Linked DNA regions of Homo sapiens: region 2 is linked to region 1. The links are contacts of gene promoters, found by promoter capture Hi-C in human tissues and cell types (Jung and others, 2019). All regions are on one chromosome and are shown on one strand. Each heading gives the region's core, a stretch centred on a gene start or on the middle of the fragment in contact. The rest is flanking DNA. Distances are from core to core; before and after follow the strand shown.

Region 1 (7,732 bases), core at 2,022-4,521:
ACAGACCTCTGCTGATGACGCAAGGAACAGCACCTAAGCCCTGTGCTTTGGCATCCCCGTTTTCTGGGTTCATGCAATGCTTCATCATCAGCAGTGCAGAGAGCTCAACAGTCTTTATGAGATGGGACATAACTAAGTGCACTCCAAACATACCATGCTTTTCAACAATCTCAAATCAAAATACGAATCTACTTTTAAGAAATGTGGTAGGTATGTGTGTCTACTTTGCTAAAAGATTTATGAGGTCACTCTTCTAAATAGCGGTCAAAATATCTTCATATGTGATATTCTGCAGCACACCAAGTCTGCAAACTAAGTGTACCCATATTTAATACGCCTTGGAAGAACAACCCTGCCGTTTGCTTCAGCGGGCATTCTACTTTCAGAGCCTGCTAAAATCTTCCATTGGTTTTTCTTACACATACTAATTCAGGGAGACAAAACAAGCTGTGCAAATTCAACAATTTGTCGTTAATATTCTACGAAGGCATTCCCTGATTCTCTGAAGGGCAACGTGACAGCATGAAACTGCCCATGAAAAACAAATACCAATGAAATGTGAAGTCATCAGAACTGCCCTGGCTTATTTTTTCACTGGTAGGAGAAAGTTGAAAAAGGAAGACGGCTGAGACTCATCTTGTGAAATACAATGTGTGTGGAACTAAATACTACCAGCGACATGGCAATAAATAGATAATAAAAGGTGTCTTCATCACCTCTTGCTATTTCCTATACAGCCCCAAATTCCCTTCTAGCAACATGCAGGAGTGAATCCAGTCACATGCCAACACACACTCGGACTCTGTTTACATTCCAAGCTTCACTTTCACACTAGACATCAGTTATGATGATTAGTAGTGACTCCTGTGGACAAAAGTGGCAAGATGTGCTCTAGGTAGATTCTGACACTCACTGCCAATGTAAATAAAGCACAAACAACAGTGACATTAACGTGTTTCATTTATCCAGCTGCACTTCCCAAAACACTCTTAAAATCGTTTTTTCGGGGGAGTTTTTACAAATAATCATGTTATTAAAACATTTTTTAAAAGAACCTAGGATGAAATGCAGCTGTCCTCACCCCCACCCCCCACAATACGTCAACCCAAGCAGCCCCTTTGTTTAGGAATGTCTGCGTCTCTGCAACTCAGGGCCTGCCCTCTACTGCCACTAATTAAATGGAGAAGTAGAGGATGCAAGGGAAAGCTCCTCAAAGAGAGAAGCCAGGAGGGAGAGGAGAAGCCCCCCGGGTCAATGAAACAATGCTACTGTCACCTATCCCCAGGTAGTTACACAAAACGGGAAATTATTTTACAAAAGCACAGCGAGGCAAAATAAACACACAAATCACACATTATTTGCACTGTGATCATTCTTTGATCAAATAAATACATCAAGCTTTGCCTAGCACCGCTAAGAAAAAAATTCATACCCTAAACACCCTTCCCACCCCAAAATACCTTTCATTCCACACTTACGTAGCACACAGGCACACACACACACCATGCCAGGGTAGGAGAGCCGCAGAAAGCGGAGCCATAACGCGAGCCTGTCTCAGATAATAGCCTTTCTTCCAACCCCACCCCCAACACGAGAGAAAGAGGGAACCTCTGAAAAGAAAGGAGGGAGGGGAAGAAAGAGAAATCGAGAACGCCTGAATTTCCAGGCATCAACTTTTCATGAAATGCACAACCAGGATAGGAAATACCTCCCTGCTGAGTAATGCTTCTTGGGTTGTAAAATTCACCTCTCGAAAGGGGAGCCAGACCTGAGCGCGCACCCCGCCAGATGGCAAACCACTCCTACCTGCTCCATCCAGCCTGCCTGTCACGCCGCGCCCGCGACAAGCGTCCCACCCCCCTTTTTGGCAGAGCAACATACCAATAAGAGCCGAGCGTGGCTGGTCGAGAGAGGACTAGGCAGTGATTTAGCAGGATTGTTTCAAAAGGGGGGAGTGGGAGACACGGAAGAGAGAATGAAGGTAAAAACAAAGCCCTTTCCAGTGAAACCGACCGCCTGGGAGGCGTGGCTTATTCAGTCGCTTTATTAATAAAAGAGATCAATTAAGCTTTCCTCTCCCCACCCACCCTGGAGGTGCCGGGCTTTGAATCCTCGGGAGGAAAAAATGGCAGGGCTGCAAGCTTCCTCCCCAAGTTTCCAGGAGCACCTGCCACCAGCCTTGAACACCTCCCCCACCGAGGCTCCGAAATCCACAATCCTGGCCGTAGACTTTGCAAAACGAGGGGAGGGACACACGCAGCGTGTCCCCCATTCCCGCCGGGATAAGCACGCACAGGCTTCTGAGCGCCTGCTGATCCACACAATCATGAGAGAGAAAGTTCCAGGGGGAAACGATCCGGCTTCTCCGCAGTCCCGGGTCTCCAGCCGCGCGACCCAGACGTGACATGCATCATGGACTCCCGGGCTGCAGGGGCGAGAGGCGGAAAGTTGCCCAACAGCCCCGGGAGACGCTGCTTGGAGAGGAAGAGGGAAGAGAGGCACGCATGCCCCCTCCCTCTCCTCCCGAAAGCGAGGAGCTGCGGAGTGAACCCCCAGCTCCAAGGGCGTCGCGCCGCTTTATTTACAAACAATGAGCTCGGCTTGCGGAGGGTGGGGGGTGCGGAAGGACCCAAGCTCCCCTGGATCCCGCTCCGGGGCGCTCCCGCTTTGGGGCTCCCCTGCAGACGCTGGGCACGAGCACCCCGGGGACGGCCCCTTTCCCCTCCCCCTGCCGGCGCGGGATAGGAACTCCCCGGGGAGTCCCGAGCAGGAAGGGGGTGCCACTCACCTCGTCTTCGGAAAGTCCATAGACCGGCTCCCCGAGCCCGGTCGCCATGGAGCCGGCGCCCCGCGCGGGGTCTGAGGCGCTCCCAGCGGCTGTGCTGCGGCGCGGACGGCCGGTTCTCCCCTCTGCCTCCAGGTCCCCCCGGTCCCGCACCCTACCCTGCGCACGCCCTGCCGGGTAAGCGGCCGGGCGCCGGCAGGTGAGGGTGCCCGAGAGCGCGCCCTGGACGCTGCCGGCACCGCTTCCTCCCGGAAGGCTGCGGGACCAGCGGGCGGGCGGCTCCCGAGAGCGCGCCGAGCACCGGGCGGCAGCCCCGGCGCCTCTCACTGCGCGCGGCGGCGGCGCAGACCCGGCCGGGCTTTCCCTCCCCGCGACCCGCGCCTCCCTCCCGCCCCGCCGCTCTCCGCCCCCCTCCGAGCCTCCTCTGCGCTCCCGGGGACCCGGCTCGCCCGCCTCCTCGCTAGCGCCGTCCGGGCCCCCGCTCTCTCCGCCCCCTCCTCCGCCTCCTCCCACCGGCGCCGCGAGGGTACCCTCCCCGTTCGCCGGGGCGGGCACACGCGCCCCCCAAGCCAATCACAGGCCGGGCTGGCGAGCGGGCCGCGGGCTGCGGGGGTGGCGGAGTTCAGCCCCACGCCCACCCCGGCCCGGGGCCTCCAGCGCGGCGCGGCGGGGGTCACCCGGCCGCGGGGCGGATCCGCAGGGGCGTGTACTGGCGCGCTTGGCCGGCGCCGCCGACCCTCCCTCCTCTCCCGGTTTCCCTCCGCTTTAGGGAGGGGGCGGGCTGGACGTTTGGGGGCGATAGAGGATTTTGCGAACAATAACAAAAACGCCCTGAGCGTTTCTTCCTCCCGGTGGTCTTTTTACCGAGAGCCCTGAGCTCGCTGTTAACTGTGAAAAGGGGAAAAGATGGATGTTTCTAGACCCCTTTAAATTCTTTGCGGCCCCGACGAGCAGGACTTGGCTACATTGTCAGCTCCCGGGAGCGAGCCGCCCGGCCCGGCTGCCAGCCGAGGAGAGGCTGCCCCAGTGTGGCCGCAAGTCGCCATTGCCTGTGTCAACCTTGCAGGGAACAAAACCAACATAGCGCCCGCCCCGGTTACACACCCACCCACGCGAAAACAGACAGCATGGTTCTTTGAATAAAAAGCAGTTCATTTGTGAGCCGCAACGTGAAATATCAAACTCAAGCTTAAGGTTATCCTTTGCATATGCAAATGATCGAGACGTCTTATTAGCCACCGTAGGATTCTTCCCACCACCCAGCTACCGTTTCTCTAGCAAGCAGTTCATTTAATCCTTCCGATTTATAGGACTGCAAGAGACTACTTTAAATAAGTGAAAGAAATTCGTCAGTCGACTTTTTCGGAAGCCTTTCCTTAAATTTAGATGTTAAGTGCAGTTGGGAGTTCAAAAAGAAAACAGACGCAGAACATTCCATTTGCCTTTGAAAAGGAAACGTCAAAGTGCCTACTTGGGTATTACCAGGATGCATTTAGGATTTTCATTCAAGGAAGTTCAGAGAGAACTCGCGTGACCCGAAGGAATCATATTCCTCGTTGCCAGCTACATAACTAAATATCTGCTGTTCGCCCTGCTAGTTCGTTTTCAAAAGAGCCCACCCATGCTACCTTAAGCTCTCCTTTGCCTTCCTGCAGCATGACTGGCTTAAAACCTGTGCCGTAGAATGGGTTTCCTTTGACGACTTAGCCCCATGGAGTCAACATCCTACTCAGAAGCCTTCTCTAGAAGTCTTGAGCCGTCAAGTCCACAGTACTTACAGGCCACAAAACCCCCAATGAGAACTATTTATGGAGGACTATTTAAAAGTCAGATTTCTGTCCATTCTTTCAATACTGAGGTTTTTCAACCCTTTCAAACCTCGAGTCTTTAGACCGGGCACGGTGGCTCAAACCTGTAATCCCAGCACTTTGGGAGGCTGAGGCGGGCGGATCATAAGATCGGTAGTTCAAGACCAGCTGGCCAATGTGGTGAAACTCCATCTCTACTAAAAATACAAAAATTACCCAGGCGTGGTGGCGGGCGCCTGTAATCCCAGCTACTCGGGGAGGCTGAGGCATGAGGATCCCTTGAACCTGGGAGGCGGAGGTTGCAGTGAGCCGAGACTGCGCCACTGCACTCCAGCCTGGACCACAGAGCGAGACTCCGTCTCAAAAAAAACAAAAACAAAAAAAAACAACCCTAAAGTCTTTTGATAAACAAAAGGTACACGTGCACACTCTGTCTTTCTCTCTCTCTCTCTCACACACACACACACACACACACACGCATTCTCAGATGCCCTTGCCCTAGCCTGTGACCCTCATGGATGGGAGTCAGTGCTTCTCTACCTACCCTCACTAGCCAAACCTTTGTAAAATTTGTACAGTTTATATTATAAAGGAAGAAAAGTAATTGAATAATAATGCTAGCATTTTGGGAGGCAGAGGCAGGAGGATCATTTGAGGCCAGGAGTTCGAGACCAGCCTGGGCAATATAGAGAGACCCCTGTCCCTACAAAAAAAAAAAAAAATTAAAAATTTGCCAGGTGTGGTGGCATGGGCCCATAGTCCTAGCTACTCAGGAGGCTAAGACTAGAGGTTCACTTGAGCCCAGAAGTTCAAGGTTACAGTGAGCTATGATCGTGCCATTGCACTCCAGCCTGGATGACAGAGAAAGACCCTGTGTCTCTAAATAAATAAATACATAAATAAATAATTCTTAAAATGTGCTGATAGAAAATTATAATTTCTAATTACACAGGACACGCCTTCCACATCCTGGAGGTACACAATTCCAGGCTTCGCCTTTGGGTAAGGCTATGTTATCTGGAAACTGTAGAGGGGTGTGGCAGTTTCTCTTCCTGTCTTTTATCATCTACTCCCACACACCCACCGCAACAGCCTATAGCCCTGCACTCAGGGTCATGTCCTTGTCTTTCCCTGAGGGATGGTTATTAGGAACTATAATATGAAACTTGCCATATGTCACTTATTGTGGGGTGTTTATAAAATCGTGATCCATGACATCAACATCCTCTGTGAGAAGACTAATAAACTAGACATTTATTTCAGATCTATGAAGAAAAGCTCTTTTGCTTTCAAGAAACTGGTAAGCTTTTGCATGGCAGATGACCAAAATTATTAAAACCGACTGTGTTTTTCTATCTACTTTGGCCACCAGGAAGCTCAGAACCAGTTTCATGGTCTTAAGCCATAAAAGAACCCATTAAAAAAAATCCCTTTTGTAACTATATACCAACTTTCCCCCAGTGCTGTGGTTCTCTACTCAGCATGTACATTGCAATCACCTGGGGAGCTTTCAAATAGACTAAGTGCCCGGTAACCAGCATCAGAGGCTATGATTTAATGGATTCTGACATCAGTAGTTTCAACAGCCTCCCAGGTGATGCTAATGTGCATTTAAGGCTGAGAACATCAGCTTAGTTTCCAAATTTTGCTATACATAGAAACATTTGGGAATTTTTACTACTGCTCCTCTCTGCCTCCCACTCCCAGGCGTTATGATTTAATTAGTACAGGGTGCCACATGGGCATCAGGAGCTTTAAAAGTTCCCCAGGTGATCCTAATGCACCACTGCCAAGTTTAGAGACATCTGGCCTAGATTTATATTACTATTCTTTTTTTTTTTCTTTTTCTTTTCCTTTTCCCCGAGAGACAAGTTCTTGCTCTGTTGTCCAGACTGGAGAACAGTGGCATGATCACAGCACACTGTACCCTCAAACTCCAGGACTCAAGTGATCCTCCCACCTCAGCCTCCCAAGTAGCTGGGACTACAGGAGCACACCATTGTACCGGCTAAGGTTTTTTGTTTTTTGTAGAGATGGGGTCTCCCTTGCCCAGGCTGGTCTCGAATTCTAGGCTTCAAGTGATCCTCCCACCTTGGCCTCCCAAAGTGTTAGGATTACAGGCATGAGCTACTGAGCCCAGCCTATATGCCTTTTCTTTATATATTTTCCACCACTCTGTTTTTTCATTCGTTTTTTTTCAACTTAGAGGAAATTGCATGTTATAAACACACTCAAATCTTTTGTGGAGTGAGGTAGAATATAAACAAACATACTTAGAAGACTAGCATCATCAATCAGTTTACCCATCATCTACTCTGAAGTCTCAGATTAGTAATCCAATTTCTTTTCTTTCTTTCTTTTTTTTTTTTTTTTTTTTTGAGATGGAGTCTCGCTCTGCTGCCCAGGCTGGAGTGCAGTGGCGTGATCTCGGCTCACTGCAAGCTCCGCCTCCTGGGTTCACGGCATTCTCCTGCCTCAGCCTCCCAAGCAGCTGGGACTACAGGCGCCCGCCACCACGCCCGGCTAATTTTTTGTATTTTTAGTAGAGACGGGGTTTCACCTTGTTAGTCAGGATGGTCTCGATCTCCTGACCTCGTGATCCACCTGCCTCGGCCTCCCAAAGTGCTGGGATTACAGACATGAGCCACCTAGCCCAACCTAGTAATCCAATTTCTTTGGGGGTGAGGGAGGACAACCCTTAAAGGGAACTATTCAGCAGGTGTATCAAAAGCAATGTTTCCTCCAGTCCGTTTTGCATCTACCCAACAATTACATAGAACCTTAACTTGTAGAGTCTCCTCTAGAATTCGTTTCCCTTTGTTCCCTTTGCAGGCTGCCTTTAGCATCTTAGATTTGATACTGTGGGTGTTTGGCAAATACTCTTCACTTGGATCATCAGAAATGAAAAATTAGCAGGAACAATTTTAAAGTACAATGGGTAATCACAAATAGGGAACATTTTAATGCTAAGCCTCTTTACAAATTATTGAGTTGTCTTAGCAAAACTATGTAGATCATAATCACATCTGGGAAGTACCCAAAGAAGAAGAATACATAATGTCACATGTTTAAGTTTCATATAAATAACACTCGATTTTTCTCTTCAATTTTCAGTGATGATTTGTCTTCTTTAAAAAGA
Region 2 (7,732 bases), core at 3,540-6,039, 720 kb before region 1:
CTGGCTGTCATCCCAGCCGCGCTGGCTGCTGTCCCTCGGTCTTCCTGAGGGCCCCCAGGCCTTCTAGGTATTGTATTGAGCCACGAGCTGGACGGGGAGGACCTGGATGTGCGTGGGAGCTCGCGGGTGGGTGAGAGCGCACCACTGCTCCGTGCGCTGCGCAGCTGCAGGGCCCCGGGCAGGTGCAGACGGCGCTCAGACCGGGACGAACGCAAGCCTGTGCTGCCCTCTGCTGGGTACCCAGCTCCCGGCCGGCCCCGAGCTCAGAAGGCGAAGGGAGACCCAAGGCCAGGCTGGGGCCCACGAAGCCGGGCTCCTCTAAGGGGTGCACCCAGCTCCCAAGGCCCCCGGGCGGACTTCGAGCAGTCCCCGCGCGGGGGCCCCAGGGTTTCTCGCTGGGCCCATCATGCCCTCTGGGCTAGGTGGCCAGGACTGTGCTCTCTTGCCTAGGGACCGGGTGAGCTCGAACTGTCCCCATGGGGCGGCTGCGGCTCCTGCAGGCTGTGCCGTCCTGGGCTCCTTTTCCGACATTGCCACCTGCCCCATTTCCTTTCCAAAGCAGAGGTGTAGGCGCCTGCCCACTATCAGTCCCTCTTTGTTGCAAGAGGCTCTGAAGGGCCCTCCCGCCTCCAGACCATTCATTCCCGTCTGACTCTGCAGCCAGACAGATCTTTCCAGAACATTAATCTGATTCTGTCATGCCCTGGCCTGACCTCCTTCAAAGTCTGCCAATTGCCAAGAGGGTCATTACAAAACTCAGCATGAAATACAAAGGACTTCAGATCTGGTTCCTGCTTCTCTTCCACCTTTTAACCCCCAGCATTATGGTCTCTTATGTCTGTCATCTTCCTGTCGAGACCAGAGGCCTTGCGCTCTGGAGCCACACAGCCGGAGTCCTTTCCCAGCTCTACTATTTGCTAGCTGTCTGACCTTGGCCGAGTTTCCTCTCTCTCTCTCTCTCTCTTTTTTTTTTTTTTTAAGATGGAGTCTTGCTCTGTCGCCCAGGCTGGAGTACAGTGGTGCGATCTCTGCTGGTTGTAACCTCCGCCTCCCAGGTTCAAGCAGTTCTCCTGCCTCAGCCTCCCAAGTAGCTGGGATTACAGCTGCACACTACCACGCCTGGCTAATTTTTTTGTATTTTTAGTAGAGATGGGGTTTCACCATGTTGGCCAGACTGGTCTTGAACTCTTGACCTCAGATGATCTGCCTGTCTTGGCCTCTCACAGTGCTGGGATTACAGGCGTGAGCCACCTCGCCAAGCCCCAGAGTTTCCTCTCTTGCCTCAATTTTTCATCTATAAACTGGGGATGATAACAGTAATATGCTTCATAGGGTTGTTGTTAATATTATTTGTATATAGAATATATAAATATATGCAAAGCACTTAGAATAGTATCTGGCACATAGTAGGCACTTTATAAGTGTTAGTCAAGATTATTCACTGAAAATGTGGGGTATCTCAGTATGTTGCCCAGGCTGGAGTGCAGTGGCTGTTCACAGGAGTGGTCATGGCTCACTGCAGCCTCGAACTCCTGGCCTCAAGGGATCCTCCTGCCTCAGCCTCCCTAGTAGCTGGGACTACAGGCACGTGCCACTGTACTCACTGCAACGTCTTCCCTTTGACTTCAACTTCTCCTGTTCATCTGATGACTTGAATAGCCATTTGAGCAACCTATCCAGCAACCTCAGATCAGTTCCTCGATCTGAATCCCAGTGACCTTCACTTCCAATTTACTCAATCCACCCCCACTCATGACCACCCCAGAACTGGCCAGCACTTACACTAGCAGAAGTGTTTTCGAAATCTTACACTTCAGTATTCCACCTTCTGACAACGCCCACCTATCCTTCCAGGTATCGTAATGTAAATGATTTTTTATTTGCTCATTTTCTTTCCAGGTTATCCAGTTTTTTTGCCTCTCCTTTTACTATCAGATCTTTCTAGCTTTTAAAAATTTTCCTGAGTGTATACATTACTGATCCCTTGAACTTTTTTCAAGTTCTTGAACTCTCTTGCACATCCATTCCCTCATTTATTCACTCAGTAAACATCCACTGAGCGTCAGGGACTGTGTCAGGGACGAGGACACATGATGTCTGCCCACAGAGCTTAGAGTGAAAGAAGGCAAAAAACACGTTCACAATTATACAACTTTGCATGAGAAAAATGCTGGGAATGAAAGCAACAGGCTGCCAGGTTGGAGAATAAAGTGGAGAACTGCAAGAGGAGAGTCTTCAGGGATGGCTTCAGAAAAGGTTCTTTGAATGTCACCAAATTGAGGCCATATGGAAACATTGACGAGGATGGTTTTTTGTTTTTAGGAGAAAAGTGTTGGGATTGAAACACTTTCAGAGTTAGTAAAAGTGGACTGGGTGCAGTGGCTCTGATGCCTGTAATCCCAGCACTTTGGGAGGCCAAGGTGGGTGGATCCCTTGATTCTAGGATTTGGAGACCAGCCTGGGCAACACAGTGAGACCCCATGTCTACAAAAATTTAAAAATTAGCCAGGCATAGTGGCACATGCTTGTGGTCCCAGCTAATTGGGAGGCTGAGGTGGGAGGATCTCTTGAGCTCACTGTGATTGCGCCACCGCACTTCAACCTGGATGACAGAATAAGACTCTGTCTAAAAAAACAGAATTAGTAAAAGTGACAAAGTAGAGATACAAGTAGAAATAGAGATGGCTCACCTAGGCTCTGTTTTGGCAGTTTAGAGAGGGGAAGCAGAGAAAATGGCAGATACTAGAGCAGGCAGGACTGGCTCCTTGTTAAAAAATTATTAAGAATTTAAAAACAGTGACGGCAGAATATTAAACCAGGCACAGGGTGCTGTGTGTCTGTAGAGGTCTCATGCCCACGAAGCTGGCTCTGACAGCATGCCTGTGTGCCAGTGAGAATAATTGGTCAAAATGAGGCATATTGATCATATTAGAGGGGAGATAACCAAAGAAATGAAATTTAGGAAAGACAAAAAGGAGATGGAGAGGCTGGGCATGGTGGCTCACACCTGTAATCCGAGCACTTTGGGAGGCTGAGATGGGAGGATCACTTGAGCCCAGGAGGTTGAGACCAGCCTGGGTGACATAGCAAGACCCTGTCTACAAAAATAAAAATAAATTAGCTGGGCATGGTGACATGTGCTTATAGTCCAGCTACTCGGGAGGCTGAGGTGGGAGGATTGCTTGAGCCCAGGAGGTTGAGGCTGCAGTGAGCTATGATTATACCACTGTACTCTAGCCTGGGCTAGAGAGTGAGAACCTGTCTCTAAAAGAAAATAAATAAAAGGGGATGCAACCCAGAGTCTACGTGGAGGGGTTAGACAGGAGTGACAAGTCCTCCATTGTAACAGGAAGAAAGAAAACTATCGATGCAAGAGGGTTAATAATACGCTGTGATGGCTTCAGTTTTTCAGTGACGGGTGAAGCAAGGCTCTCAGGAGTGGGAGGGTAGGAGGAGAAGGAGAATGAGGGGCTTAAGTAGAGAGAAGTGTGTGGAAGTTGGTGGGGGTTGGAGTTTTGCCAGTTGAAAGTAAAAGAATGGATCAGGGGAGTTGGTGTTTGTGAGAGCGAATAGACGAAACAAAGAATCTGGTTAGACAAGAAAATAAGTCGAGATTTGAGTGAAATAAGAGGGGTCAAGTGTTAGCATCTTGATTCTGGTGACTTGTGATATTGAAGGGGCACTTGAGAAAGTGGGCTGAAAGATAGGGCTTTGTAATCAGAGAGGACAAAATTTAAATCCATGATTTTGGAAGAGTGTAATTTTTGTGATGACAAGGTCCAGGATATCTCTTGGGTGGTGTATGGTTGGGTTACAAGAAGTCTCTGTGGATGAGGAAGCCAAAGAGCCAAGAGAAGAATTGTGTGGGTCATCAACGTGGAGTTGAAATTACCAGGAATGATGAGGGCATAGGATGGAGCTAAGCTTTCAGGTCAAGTGCTAAGTCTTCACTCTTCTCTCAAGATGGGAAAATAATGCACCATTAAAATTATTTTTTCTGCTAGGCACGGTGGCTTACACCTATAATCCCAGCACTTTGAGAGGCTGAGGTGGGAGAATTGCTTGAGCCCAGGAGTTTAAGACCAGCCTGGGCAATATAGCAAGACCCATCCCTACAAAAAATAAACAAAATTAGCGGGGCATAGTGGAGAATCACTTGAGCCCTGGCGGTCGAGGCTGCAGTGAGCCGTGATCAAGCCACTGCACTCCAGCCTGGGTGACAGACACCCTGTCTAAAAAAAAATTTTTTTTTCTTGCAACAGCATTTCTAAGTTTTGCGAACTCCTCTCTCCTCCCACTTCATTAGAGAGATCAAATCTCCGTGGGACTGAAGGGGGCACAGTTCTTCCTTTGAGCCAGGAGGGGGAGCAAGAGACTGCAACAGAAGGCTCTGAATCTAAACGAAGCCTTTCGGAAGACAAAGGGGTGGATCACAAAGGAGCTTGCGGTTCCCCTCCGCCTTTCTGCATTAGTTTCCTAGGGTTGTTCTAATAAATTACCACTAGCTTGGGCCTTACAATAGTGGGCATTTATCCTCTCATAGCTGGAGTGCAGTGGCTCCACCTCCTGGGTTCCAGCAGTTCTCCTGCTTTAGCCTCCCAAGTAGCTGGGACTACAGGTGTGTGCCACTGCACCTGGCTAATTTTTGTATTTTTAGTAGAGATGGGGTTTCACCATGTTAGCCAGGCTGGTCTCGAACTCCTGACCCTCAAGTGATCTGCCTACCTCAGCTTCCTAAAGTGCTGGGATTACAGGCGTGAGCTACCACGCCGGGGCCAATGATTTGCTTTTTTAAAAAAACAAAAACCAAACAGCCTCAGAAATTTTGAACTACTTTCTCTAAAAGAAACCAGCTTTATTGAGAAATAATTCACATGCCAGACATTCACCAATTTAGTATATTTGTAGATCATTGATCATCACAATCAATTTTAGAACATTTTTTTATCACCCTAAAAGAGTCCCCATACCCATTGGCAGTCCCTTCCGGTTTCTCCCACCTTCCCGGGCCCCCAGTCCCTGGTAGCCTACCCTATCACTAGAGATTTGCCTTTCCTGGACTCTTCACAGAAATGGAGTCAGACAGTAGAAATGCAGTCTTTTAAATTATTTATGGGCCGAGCTGGGCGCTGTGGCTCACGCCTGTAATCCCAGCAATTTAGGACGCCAAGGTAGACAGATTACTTGAGGTTAGGAGTTTGAGACCAGCCTGGCCAACATGGTGAAATCCCGTTGCTACTAAAAATGCAAAAATCAGCTGGGCATGGTGGTGCACACCCCTAATCCCAGCTACTGAGGAAGCTGAGGTAGGAGAATCAATTGAACCCAGGAGGCAGAAGTTGGAGTGAGCCGAGATCATGCCACTGCACTCCAGCCTGGGTGATAGAGTGAGATTCTGTCTCAAAAATTAAAAAAAAAAAAGATTTATGGTGAACAGCGGGTTAGATGTCATTCTTTTGATTTTAGGGTTGTATTCAAGTATAAGACTCATTCTTTTCACAATGAGCGGTTAGAGCAGCAAAGCTGTAGATATCTGAAGACTTTGAGAGCTTAGGGAATAGGAGGATCATCTGGGGTCCCCCCTTTCTCTCTCCTTCCCCCGCAGCCCTCTCCTTTGCCACCAGCAGCCGAGAGAACAGTCTTGGGGGAAAGAAAACACAGAAGCTCAGTGCTGCGGGGAGAGGGGAATGAAGGCGTGATAAGAGACATGCGGGGGCTGTTCCTGGCTCGCTCACCTCCTTGTCCTCTTCCTCACCGAAACCACAGAGTCTCCCCCAGCCTTGCAGCAGAAGTGTGGTCGTGCCTCTGCAGTAAGCTGGGTGTAGGACTGGCTGGCCAGCATCTGCAGTCTATGCTGAGTACCTGTGCCTGGGTGACCCTTCCCCCGCGACTCCAGTGTGACCTTCCTTCCCAAGCCTCTTGTTGCCCTGGGGTCTTCCACATTCAGCTGTGTCAAGCTCAGGGAATACAGGAGGAAAATGGGATCGCCTCAAAGTTAGGGGCTGGGGGATGAGTTGCCGCAGGTACTAACAGGCAAACCTGCCCTGTTCCTCCAGCCGGGTGCCAGTGGTAGTTGACAGGGAAAGGGCCCTTGAGGAAGAGAGCAAGTGGGGAGAGAGAGGGAGAGACAGAGAGGATGGAGAAGTTGGAGGTCTCTGTGGTGGCCCAAGGGGGCAGTGGGGCCTGGAGGAGGTGGTTGGGCATCTGCTCCCACTAACCCATGGGCCACCTGGTCCCTTTGCCACGGACCCTGCTATGGGCAGCCATGGTGGGGTGGAGGCGTGTCCCTGGCACCCCCATGTCTCCCCGCATGAGTTTCCTGAGGAACCTGTGGGCATCCCGACGCCCTCTGGGTTTCACCTGGAGGACCACTGCTCACAAGTGGCCTCTCCTTATTTCTTTGAGCAACTTGAACTCTGTGAAAAGAACGTGGGCTCCACGGAGGCCTGTGCCAGCGGAGACAGGAAACATCACCGCTGTTTTCAAGATGGTTCCATTCACTCTTTGTCCTAGTGACCCTGTACTCAGCTCCCATTGTGATGGCTTGGGCGGGGGGATGGGCATGTTTTCTGGATAGTTCCACTGCCTCTGCCCCACTGCATGCAAGCCTGGTCAGCCTGGTGAGGGAGGGCATGCTCAGGCCCCCACCAGCCCCGGGCCTGCTGTCCTTCAGTGGCCTGTGTTCTGAAGACACAGGTGCATCTCTGTCACCCACTACCCACCAAGTCACAAACACCTGGGGCGGGAAGGAAGGTAAATGTTCCTCAAGGGATAGTGTGTATATGAGGGTGGGGTGCGTGGCTGGGAGGCGCACAAATGGCAGCATCCACTTAGGAGCCTGTACCCATCTTCCAGCAGGTCAGCACGGCTGAAGCCAGCAAATTTGTTGTGTTCTCTGGGCCTTAGCAGTCACGACCTTGGACCACGAGATGTGCCCTTGTCGCATTTATTTAAAGAGTTGAAATCTGAAAGGTGCATTAGAAATCGTTCTATTTATAGAGTCACTCTAAATACACTGTGGTGGAAGATGGCCAAGAGCTATTGTGAAGTGAAAGTAGGAACTGGAAAACGGTGAGCTCAGCATGATCTCACATATGCACATATGTGTACACCTGTGTGTATACATGTATAAAAGATATCTGTACACATGTATGTGTATAATACTCATACGTGTGTGTGCATATGTGTGTGTGTGTCCATATGGTCTGGAGATTTATATGCATAATACAACCGGAAGAAATATACACTGAAGAGATAGCATTATCTCTTGAAAGTGAGATTGGGATTATGTGGGGAGGGGAACTTTTAAACATTAATTTACGGAAAAGAAACGGAAAAATGTTCTGGTTCAGTCTAGCCAGGGTAAGTTTGAGACCTGGGCCCCAGGGTGACTTTCACCTCAACCACTGCTCTCTGCCAGTGCCACGCTGCCTGTGGCCTGGCCCTTGCTGTGAGTGTTTACGACCACAAAATTTACTTTTCCTGGAAGTGGTTTCTTCTGATGGCTGGAGAATGTTTATGACATTGTCCATCTCTGTTTCTCCTTAATGAAATTGCCTGGCAGCCGCGGTATTTTAGAGAAGTCTTAACCCCTACTCACTCTCCATTTAGCTTTCCATTCCATTTTCCATGGGAATGGCTGCTCTGACATCAGAATAGGCAATGGCAGCAGGAAGCAGTATCATCAAAGGTGCGAGTTTGAACTCTGGGGAGAGAGGTGTTCATAGGGTAA

What was found. The method cuts DNA at HindIII sites, captures the fragments that hold promoters and counts their contacts. A contact is called where the count stands out against the background at its distance.
Region 2: a contact is called between a fragment that was not itself captured here and the fragment with the promoter of NEDD4L in region 1, in 1 of the 25 tissues and cell types used here (lymphoblastoid cells).

What each region holds. Positions count from the first base shown.
Region 1 is chr18:58,039,765-58,047,496 of GRCh38, reverse strand. NEDD4L (NEDD4 like E3 ubiquitin protein ligase) reads right to left here and starts at 3,271. Exons shown (of 31, transcript NM_001144967.3): 1 at 2,789-3,271. The coding sequence starts at 2,836. RefSeq lists silencers at 2,637-3,186, 3,207-3,576 and a cis regulatory region at 5,466-5,878. The HindIII fragment of the contact is 3,203 bases long and covers 1,734-4,936 here.
Region 2 is chr18:58,761,103-58,768,834 of GRCh38, reverse strand. The region is part of intron 1 of LOC105372146 (a long non-coding RNA gene); the gene reads left to right. Among named protein-coding and RNA genes, the nearest start is that of LINC01926, 49 kb to the left of the region's middle. RefSeq lists enhancers at 1-63, 4,412-4,681, 6,803-6,852 and a silencer at 144-293. The HindIII fragment of the contact is 6,881 bases long and covers 1,349-7,732 here.